2 separate regions of the Homo sapiens genome follow, and region 1 is linked to region 2. The links are contacts of gene promoters, found by promoter capture Hi-C in human tissues and cell types (Jung and others, 2019). All regions are on one chromosome and are shown on one strand. Each heading gives the region's core, a stretch centred on a gene start or on the middle of the fragment in contact. The rest is flanking DNA. Distances are from core to core; before and after follow the strand shown. Region 1 holds the start of GABRR2 (gamma-aminobutyric acid type A receptor subunit rho2). Region 2 holds the start of SRSF12 (serine and arginine rich splicing factor 12).

Evidence for each region. Contacts are between HindIII fragments. The study calls those that stand out against the background at their distance.
Region 1: a contact is called between the fragment with the promoter of GABRR2 here and the fragment with the promoter of SRSF12 in region 2, in 1 of the 25 tissues and cell types used here (adrenal gland).

Annotation. Positions count from the first base shown.
Region 1 is chr6:89,313,100-89,317,138 of GRCh38, reverse strand. GABRR2 (gamma-aminobutyric acid type A receptor subunit rho2) reads left to right here and starts at 1,840. Exons shown (of 9, transcript NM_002043.5): 1 at 1,840-2,086. The coding sequence starts at 1,974. The HindIII fragment of the contact is 18,857 bases long and covers 1-4,039 here.
Region 2 is chr6:89,115,669-89,119,429 of GRCh38, reverse strand. It overlaps SRSF12 (serine and arginine rich splicing factor 12), which reads left to right and starts at 1,359. Exons shown (of 5, transcript NM_080743.5): 1 at 1,359-1,607. The coding sequence starts at 1,543. It also overlaps a transcript of PM20D2 not described here. RefSeq lists a silencer at 1,506-1,775. The HindIII fragment of the contact is 14,948 bases long and covers 1-3,761 here.

The DNA.
Region 1 (4,039 bases), core at 591-3,090, 200 kb before region 2:
GGCAGCTTTAAGAGATTACCTGTTGGACTTTATCTGTATAAGACAACTTTAGTTCCTGTGTAGTTCCACCCCTCACTTTCCTCCTGGGTCCATTCATCCTCCCTAATGATTTACTGTCCCTCAAAAGAATTGCCTACATCCCCCATCTCTTCCTTATGAAAAAGGGTATATAAATGTCTGTACCATGCTGGGTAATTGGGTAATCATGATGTGATTTTCCTCCATGCATGTTAATAAATCTGTATGCCTTTTCCCCTATTAATCTTCCTTTTGTCAGTTGATTTTTTGGTGATCCTCCATGGGGCAAAGGGAAAACTTTCACTTGGTCTCTACAGCTCCAGATCTATTTCTATAGTCTAGAAATAGAACTAGACTTTCTCCTGAACTCCAGGCTCATGCTCTAGCTTTTTTTTTTTTTTTTTTTTTTTTGGAGACGGAGTCATGCTCTGTCGCCCAGGCTGGAGTGCAGTGGTGTGATCTTGGCTCACTGCAGCCTCTGCCTCCCAGGTTCAAGTGATTCTCCTGCCTCAGCCTCCTGAATAGCTGGGATTAACAGGCACGTACCACCACACCTGGCTAATTTTTGTATTTTTAGTAGAAATGGGGTTTCACCACGTTGGCCAGGCTGGTCTTGAACTTCTGACCTCAGGTAATCCACCTGCCTCTGCCAAAGTGCTGGGATTACAAGTGTGAGCCACCGTAGAATTCTTGATATTATTGTTGACTTTTCTGTCTCTCACCTTCTACTCTATCTGCACAGGCACCAAATGTATGCTACCGCAGAACTAACTTGAGTATCTCACTCTTCTGTCTTCCTTTCTCTTCTTCCTTCTTCGCTTCCCTCAGAGCAGGACCTTATTCTCTTTTGTCATCATAAGTTCCCTGATTCGACTGATCCCAATTAGGAATTATTTCAAAAATAAAGTAGATCATGCCATCTCACTTTGCTTAAGGGAATCAAAGAGCTTCTTTTGATTCTGTCATTTATACATAGTAAAATCCCAATTCTGTTTCACTTACGGCTATCCCACCTCCTGATCTCTGTCCTCATCTCCCTATGTTTCTACCATGAAATTTTCCATTGCCAGGACATAGCAAGCAATGAGTAGTTTTTAAACATATTCTATTTTGTTCAGTAGGTTAGACATAACCACATGTATCTCTACAATTCTAATGTGCTTAATTCCATATCCCAGGATAGGAATAAAGCCTAATTTATGATTGATTTTATACATTTTAGGGTTAAAGGCCAAAGTTAATTTAATGCTTATGGTAGGAAGAAAAGCTTACATAATCATGAATTCTATGATTAATGTCATCCTTGAAACTAAAAATGTATTTTATGCTTTGATGTTTTCACTGGAAAAAGTTGATCTATATTTGTGAGAAAGGAAGTATCCTTGCTCATAGGCAAAGCATATTCTCTTAGCTCCATAAATAAATCAACCCTAAGGAAACAGGTCATTCATGTTTACTCAGCATTTCCTGAACACATTTATGTACCCATCTAAATGTCCACCAAGTCCTCTCTGCAAATCTACTTGGAATCCGAGCTGACCCCCTGGTGGATGGGACAGACTGGTTTTATGCAGCCAGAAGATGGACCAATAATCTCAGCACAAAGCTGGCATGTTCAAGAGATTTAATTTTTTATATAACAGCTTTAGCCAAAGCTATTCTAGGATTCAGTGGAAGCAGAATTTCATGAGGACAAACTTCTCGACTAATGGCCAATCACTAATCAGCAGGGAGGGCAAAGCCTGGTGTTTGTGTCATGGCCCGGAGTGGAGGGGGTGAGTGGGGCGTCAGTATCAAATAGTAAATCGGGACAACTAGCCTGGCCAGCCTTGCCCTCACAGCCCCTCAGAGCAGCCCGTCAGGAGGCAGCAGATGGATCAATGGTCAAGCCAGGGGGGATTTGCTCTGCCACAGGCTACTGGAAAGCAGCTTTTTGCCTCACAGATGTCCACAAAATGCCTTATTTTACAAGACTCATTTTGTTCTTGTTTTGCTTGATGGTTCTCGTGGAGAGCAGAAAACCCAAGAGGAAGCGATGGACAGGGCAGGTGGAAATGCCCAAGCCAAGGTAAAGTCATAGGTGGGAAAGGAGGGAGGTTACCCTGCATAGTAGCAGCAGCAGTGGCACAGTGGGATGGCTCCCCAGGGGGCTAAGGTCCTATTGAGATATCGCCCTATGAGAATGAGAACCCAGCTACTTCACTGAACGCAGCCTCTCCCTGGGCACACATACTCTATGTGTCACAAGCATTGAGAGCAGAACTAGACTGGGATGAGCCTTCCTTCGGATGCCTGCGTTCAGCCAAAGCATTTTGATTTGAGGCAGATATAAATAGTTGGAGACGTAGTGGGTAAAATCATTCTCTGTACAAATCACATTGTGCTGCTTTGTTTCTCAGGGTTACAACCGATGACCTGCTAAATAATTACACTCAAGTATTTTGGGGAGAACTGTATATAGGAACCTAGCCTGAACTATTAAGAAAAAAATGCATACGGGAGTTGTCTTCCTTAAATTATTTGCCAGAGAATAACTTTATAATGATATTGGGTTTCATTTTACTGTTTTGAATCTTAGAAGAGGTGTTCAGAAATTTGCTTAATTATCAGAAATATATGTGTGAACAACAGTGAATGCAATTTCATGATGTAATGGAGACATTCCCAAGAAATAATAGCCCAGGATCTGCATTCAAAATCATTACATTACAAATCTAAGTTCCTTAGGAAGTTTATTTTGAATTGACATACGAAGCATCATACTCCAGGCCTGAAGTAGACATAAGGACTGTTAGACATGGAGATAAGAAAAGAACAAGCAGCTAAGATATAAACACCATGTGTGGCATGTTACACATTTATTTTCCATTCTACTAAGCATCAGATAAACTAGTGGTTTTGAATATAAATTAATATCTTGAGGCACATTTTCTAGGTCAGTCCCCAAACATTTTTGAACATGCGCTGCTGTCAATGACAAGTTTTTGAAACTGTACCTCTAATACATGCATATTTACTTACAAATCACATACATGTGCTGTTATAAATATGTATGTTAAAGTTTAATTGATTTCTTATTTTTAGAAAAAAAAAAAAAAAACCCTGAATATAAATAAGAGTTACAGCCTCTACTTCCAGTATCCCAGTGGCAACTGCTGCTCTGGGAGAGGTTATTACTCTCTTTTGTTTATTTGTTTGTTTGTTTTTTGAGATGGACTCTCTGTCACCCAGGCTGGAGTGCAGTGGCGCAATCTTGGCTCACTGCAACCTCCACCTCCCGGGTTCAAGCGATTCTCCTGCCTCAGCCTCCCGAGTAGCTGGGATTACAGGCGTGCACCAGCATGCCTGGCTAATTTTTGTATTTTTAGTAGAGACAGGGTTTCACCATGTTGGCCAGGCTGGTCTCAAACTTCTGACCTCAAGTGATCCACCCACCTTGGCCTCCCAAAGTGCTAGGATTACAGGCAGAAGCCACCACACCCAGCCTATAATTACTCTCTCTGGAGCCTAGTCCTACTCAGCGGAAGGCAAACAGATCAAAACCCTCAGAGGCCCTGCTCTGAACAACCCATGCGGGTTGGGTTGCCAGAACCATAGGCTGTTAAACTGGAAGGAGCCTCAGATGTCATCGGCCCAGCAAGTCCCCTGAACTCTAATTTTGGGAAACGTGAATGGCTGTTGAGTGAAATGGGGTTCCAGGGCCACCAAAACGTGGAAAACCCTGGTTTAGACCATTTTCAACAGATGTCTCTACAGCAGAACTTTTAGAACCTTTGTTATGCAAATAGGCACTGTGAGAATCTTGAAGAGAGGGATAAATTATGCAGGGCTTCTCAGAAACAACTAAAAAATCCACAGTTTTTTGGACTGTCTTGTGGGATTCCTACTCCATGGAGCACACACTGGGAAACTGTCCAAGTCAACTCATTTGACAGATGCTGAAATGGCTCAGGGGCATGAGTAAGTCACACGGCCTGCTAGTGGCTTCCCAACACTAGAATGTAGGTTCCTGATTTACTTA
Region 2 (3,761 bases), core at 110-2,609:
GCACGTGCTGTTCCACTGCACTAATTACTCTTCTCCATTCTTTACCCATCTCTTCAAGACTTGTTCAGGGAACATAAGTGACCCTCTAGCCTTGCTCACCATCCCACAATGCCTGCTCTCAGCAGCATATAGTTCTTTTCATAGCCCTGTATTATAGTTTGTATCTTTACCAGTGTGATTGTTAGATTCTGCCTCCCTACCAAATTCTAAGCTCTAGGGGAATAGGCACGGTGCCAGTCTAGCCCTGTGCCTGCAGTGCCAGAGCAATCCCTTCTGAATGAAAGAATAGCCACCGTTCCAGTACAGCTGCAGACCCAGGAACCTCCACAGCCTCTGGGAGGGCTGTGAGCTAGAAGGGTGACCACGACATGTATTCTTCAAAGCCTACCACTTCTGCGAGCGAAAAGGGGCACTCTTCACACTTAGGAGTTGCCTGGTTACACTCCCAGCCCTGAATAACAGGCTGTGCCTGCCGGCCACAGGAGCAAGGCGAAGACGAGTCTAACTAGAAGGGGATGGGCTACAACATTTTGGGGGAATAGGGAGAGGGTAATTTAAATTTTGCTTAACTGTCCCTGCATTTAAACTGTTGTCTTCTACATCATGTATTCATTTGTACATTCGTTTGTCCCCCCTCTAGAATGTAAGCTCAGAGGGCGGGGCTTGGCCTGTTTGTTCATTGCTATATCCCACGCTAAGTGCCTGGCGCATAGTAGACGCTCAATAAACATCTGAATGAATGTACTCACAGCTGAGTGTTATGCCCCAAGTGAATAAAGGATGAAGAATCATATAATACTTAAAAATCCAACAGGCCAGGCGCGGTGGCTCACACCTGTAATCCCAGCACTTTGGAAGGCCGAGGCGGGAGAGGCTTGAGCCCAGGAGTTTGAGACCACCTGGGCAACACAGCGAGACCCCGTCTCTATTAAAAAAACAAATCCGAACAAAACCGAGACCTCACAGTTGGAAAGCCGAAGGCTCAAGACCAGAGGGGCAGGAGGCCTACCAACTGCCAAGGTCCTGCGCTCAGGACGATGCGCTGAGGGCCGCGGAGGCTGAGCGGGGGCGCGGTTGAAAGCGGCTCTCACTGACCCCACCTCCGCCCAGCCGCAGCCCCGCCACCACCTCTGGGTCCTCTAACCCCCGGCGTCCCCGCCGCGGCCTCAAGCCCCCTCTTGGCCTCCGCCCTCCTGACATACACTGGCCCTCGCCGCCCCCTCCCCAAATCCCGTCGCACTCCAGGACCCCCCATACCCGGATCCCATAGGGCCTGGGAACGGCCGCGCTCCTGTCTTCGGAATTCCCGCGGCCCCTGGGCCGCGCCGGCGCCGCCCCCGCCCCCGGCCCGTGCGTCCAGGCTGGCGCCGCGCTGCGCCCCCTCTGCGCCGGCCTCTGCGGCTGCGCGCTGGCGGGGCTGAGGCCGAGGGGTGGGGGTCGCGCCGGGGGCCGGCGGAGCTCCTGTGGTGGTAGCAGCGGTAGCGGGAGACGGAGCGAGTCCAGCGGCCGCGGGCAGACCCGGAGGGAACGGAGGAAGCGGTCATGTCTCGCTACACGAGGCCCCCCAACACCTCCCTGTTCATCAGGAACGTCGCGGACGCCACCAGGTGAACGGCCGCGGCTGCAGGTTGGGGGCGCGGAGGAGGGGCGGGGTAACAGCCGCGCCGCGGAGCACGGCCGAGGCCCGGCGGAGGCTCGGGGGAGCTGCGCGGAGCCTCCCCGCGGGCCCAGGCTGCGCCACTTGGGGAGGTGTGAGCCCTCGGACTACTCCGCGGCCCAGGGCGGAACTCGCGCCTCCGCCCTCCCGGCCAGCTTTCAGCCCCGGCGCCGCGCACATCGTGTCCCGGGCCCGCGTCGCTTTCCGCGGTTCAGCACCGCAGCCGGCGGGCCGTGGGACACGGGGCGCCCCTCTCCCGAGCTCAGGTCGCTCCCCGCCGGGAGTCGGGAGGGTTTGCGCTCCAGCGAGTGCCCGCGTTTCAGCTCCTTTGTCGCCGTGCCCCGATAAAATCGCGCGCATCCAACCCTCCTAGATGGAGAGGAATTGGGGCTGGTGAGAACGTTTTGTACCATAATGCGTACTCGGGCCTTACAGTTTCTTTCCCCCAGTTCTGGTCTACTTACAGACGGTGCTGCTTGCATTTTATTCACACAATTTTATTCTGCATACAAAAAATAACTTCAATGAATGAGATCAGTGCGTTTTTCTTTAAAGTTCTGAGTCCAGTATTAACACCCTTTTTAAGGGCGTGAGTATAGGCTCACCTGGTTGATTCTGATGCCCCACCCCTCCGTTGAGAATTTTGTCTACAGAGTGTCTGAACACAGATACTAAGGAATGACTTTTTCATATAGCACTTCCTTCCTTAATGGAGCTGAAGAAATTGGGGGCGGGGGGAGAGGGAACGGTGTTAATAGACATTCTCATTTCACTGGGCTTCATTTACTTCCCCCCAGCCTTTCTACCTATGCAGTACTGTTTTATTGTACATAAGGGAGAGCGGAAACTAAGAGTTTTAATGATTTACCTGGGGCCAGAGAGGTATAGATACATGGAGCTCTTGACTCCATAGTCATCTGAGATGAGTATTATAATTTACCTTTGAGGAGTAAATAAACGTTAAGTATTTTTTATTTTTTAGTTTTTTTTTTTTTTTTAGACAAAGTCTCGCTCTTGTCCCCCAGGCTGGAGTACAATGGCCCGATCTTGGTTGGCTGCAACCTCTGCCTCCCGGGTTCAAGCGATTCTCCTGCCTCAGCATCCAAAGTAGATGGGATTACAGGCGTGTGCCACCACACCCGGCTAATTTTTATATTTTTAGTAGAGATGAGGTTTCATTATGTTGGCCAGGCTGATCTCCAACTCCTGACCTCAAGTGATCCGCCCAGCTCGGCCTCCCAAAGCGCTGAGATTACAGGCATGAGCCACCGTGCCCGGCCAAGTATTTTTTATTTGATCACCGCAAGTACATGTATCACAACTATATGTTGTGGTTAATATATCTTAGTTAACATCTAAAAGGTGCCTTGTTTACATTTCTTCTGTCAGCCTTTTTATCAATATATTACATAGAAAACACGAACATAATTTATGATTTGGGCAGAATTAAAAAACCTTGCAGTTGAACAGACAACTTGAAAATGGAATAAGCATCAAGCCTCTTCAGGGTGTCTGTAGAAAAATCAGAGGTTTCCAATTCTAATGGTTCACAGGGGCCAGCCGGGGTAATATAAACGAGTGAAGCTGCCAGCCTATAAGGCACAGTAGGATGGTGTGGACTATCAAATAGAAATAGAATAGCAAATAGAAAAGGAAATATGCCATCTAAAAGGTGCAGCATCTGCCTCTAGGCTCCAGCTGACAGCTGCCATGTAGACATCTGGACTTATTGTTGATATATCTTACTAGTTGTAAAGAGAAATCAGAAATCTGGATTTTGTATGTGTAATCTTAGTCTTTAGATGCATTAAGTTGAATCATATGAAAATCCCATTCGTGGCCGGGTGCGGTGGCTCATGCCTGTAATCACAGCACTTTGGGAGGCTGAGGCAGGCGGATCACGAGGTCAGGAGATGGAAACCATCCTGGCTAGCACGATGAAACCCCGTCTCTACTAAAAATAAAAAAATTAGACGGGCGTGGTGGCGGGTGCCTGTAGTCCCAGCTGCTCAGGAGGCTGAGGCAGGATAATGGTGTGAACCCGGGAGGCGGAGCTTGCAGTGAGCCAACATCGCGCCACTGCACTCCAGCCTGGGAGACAGAG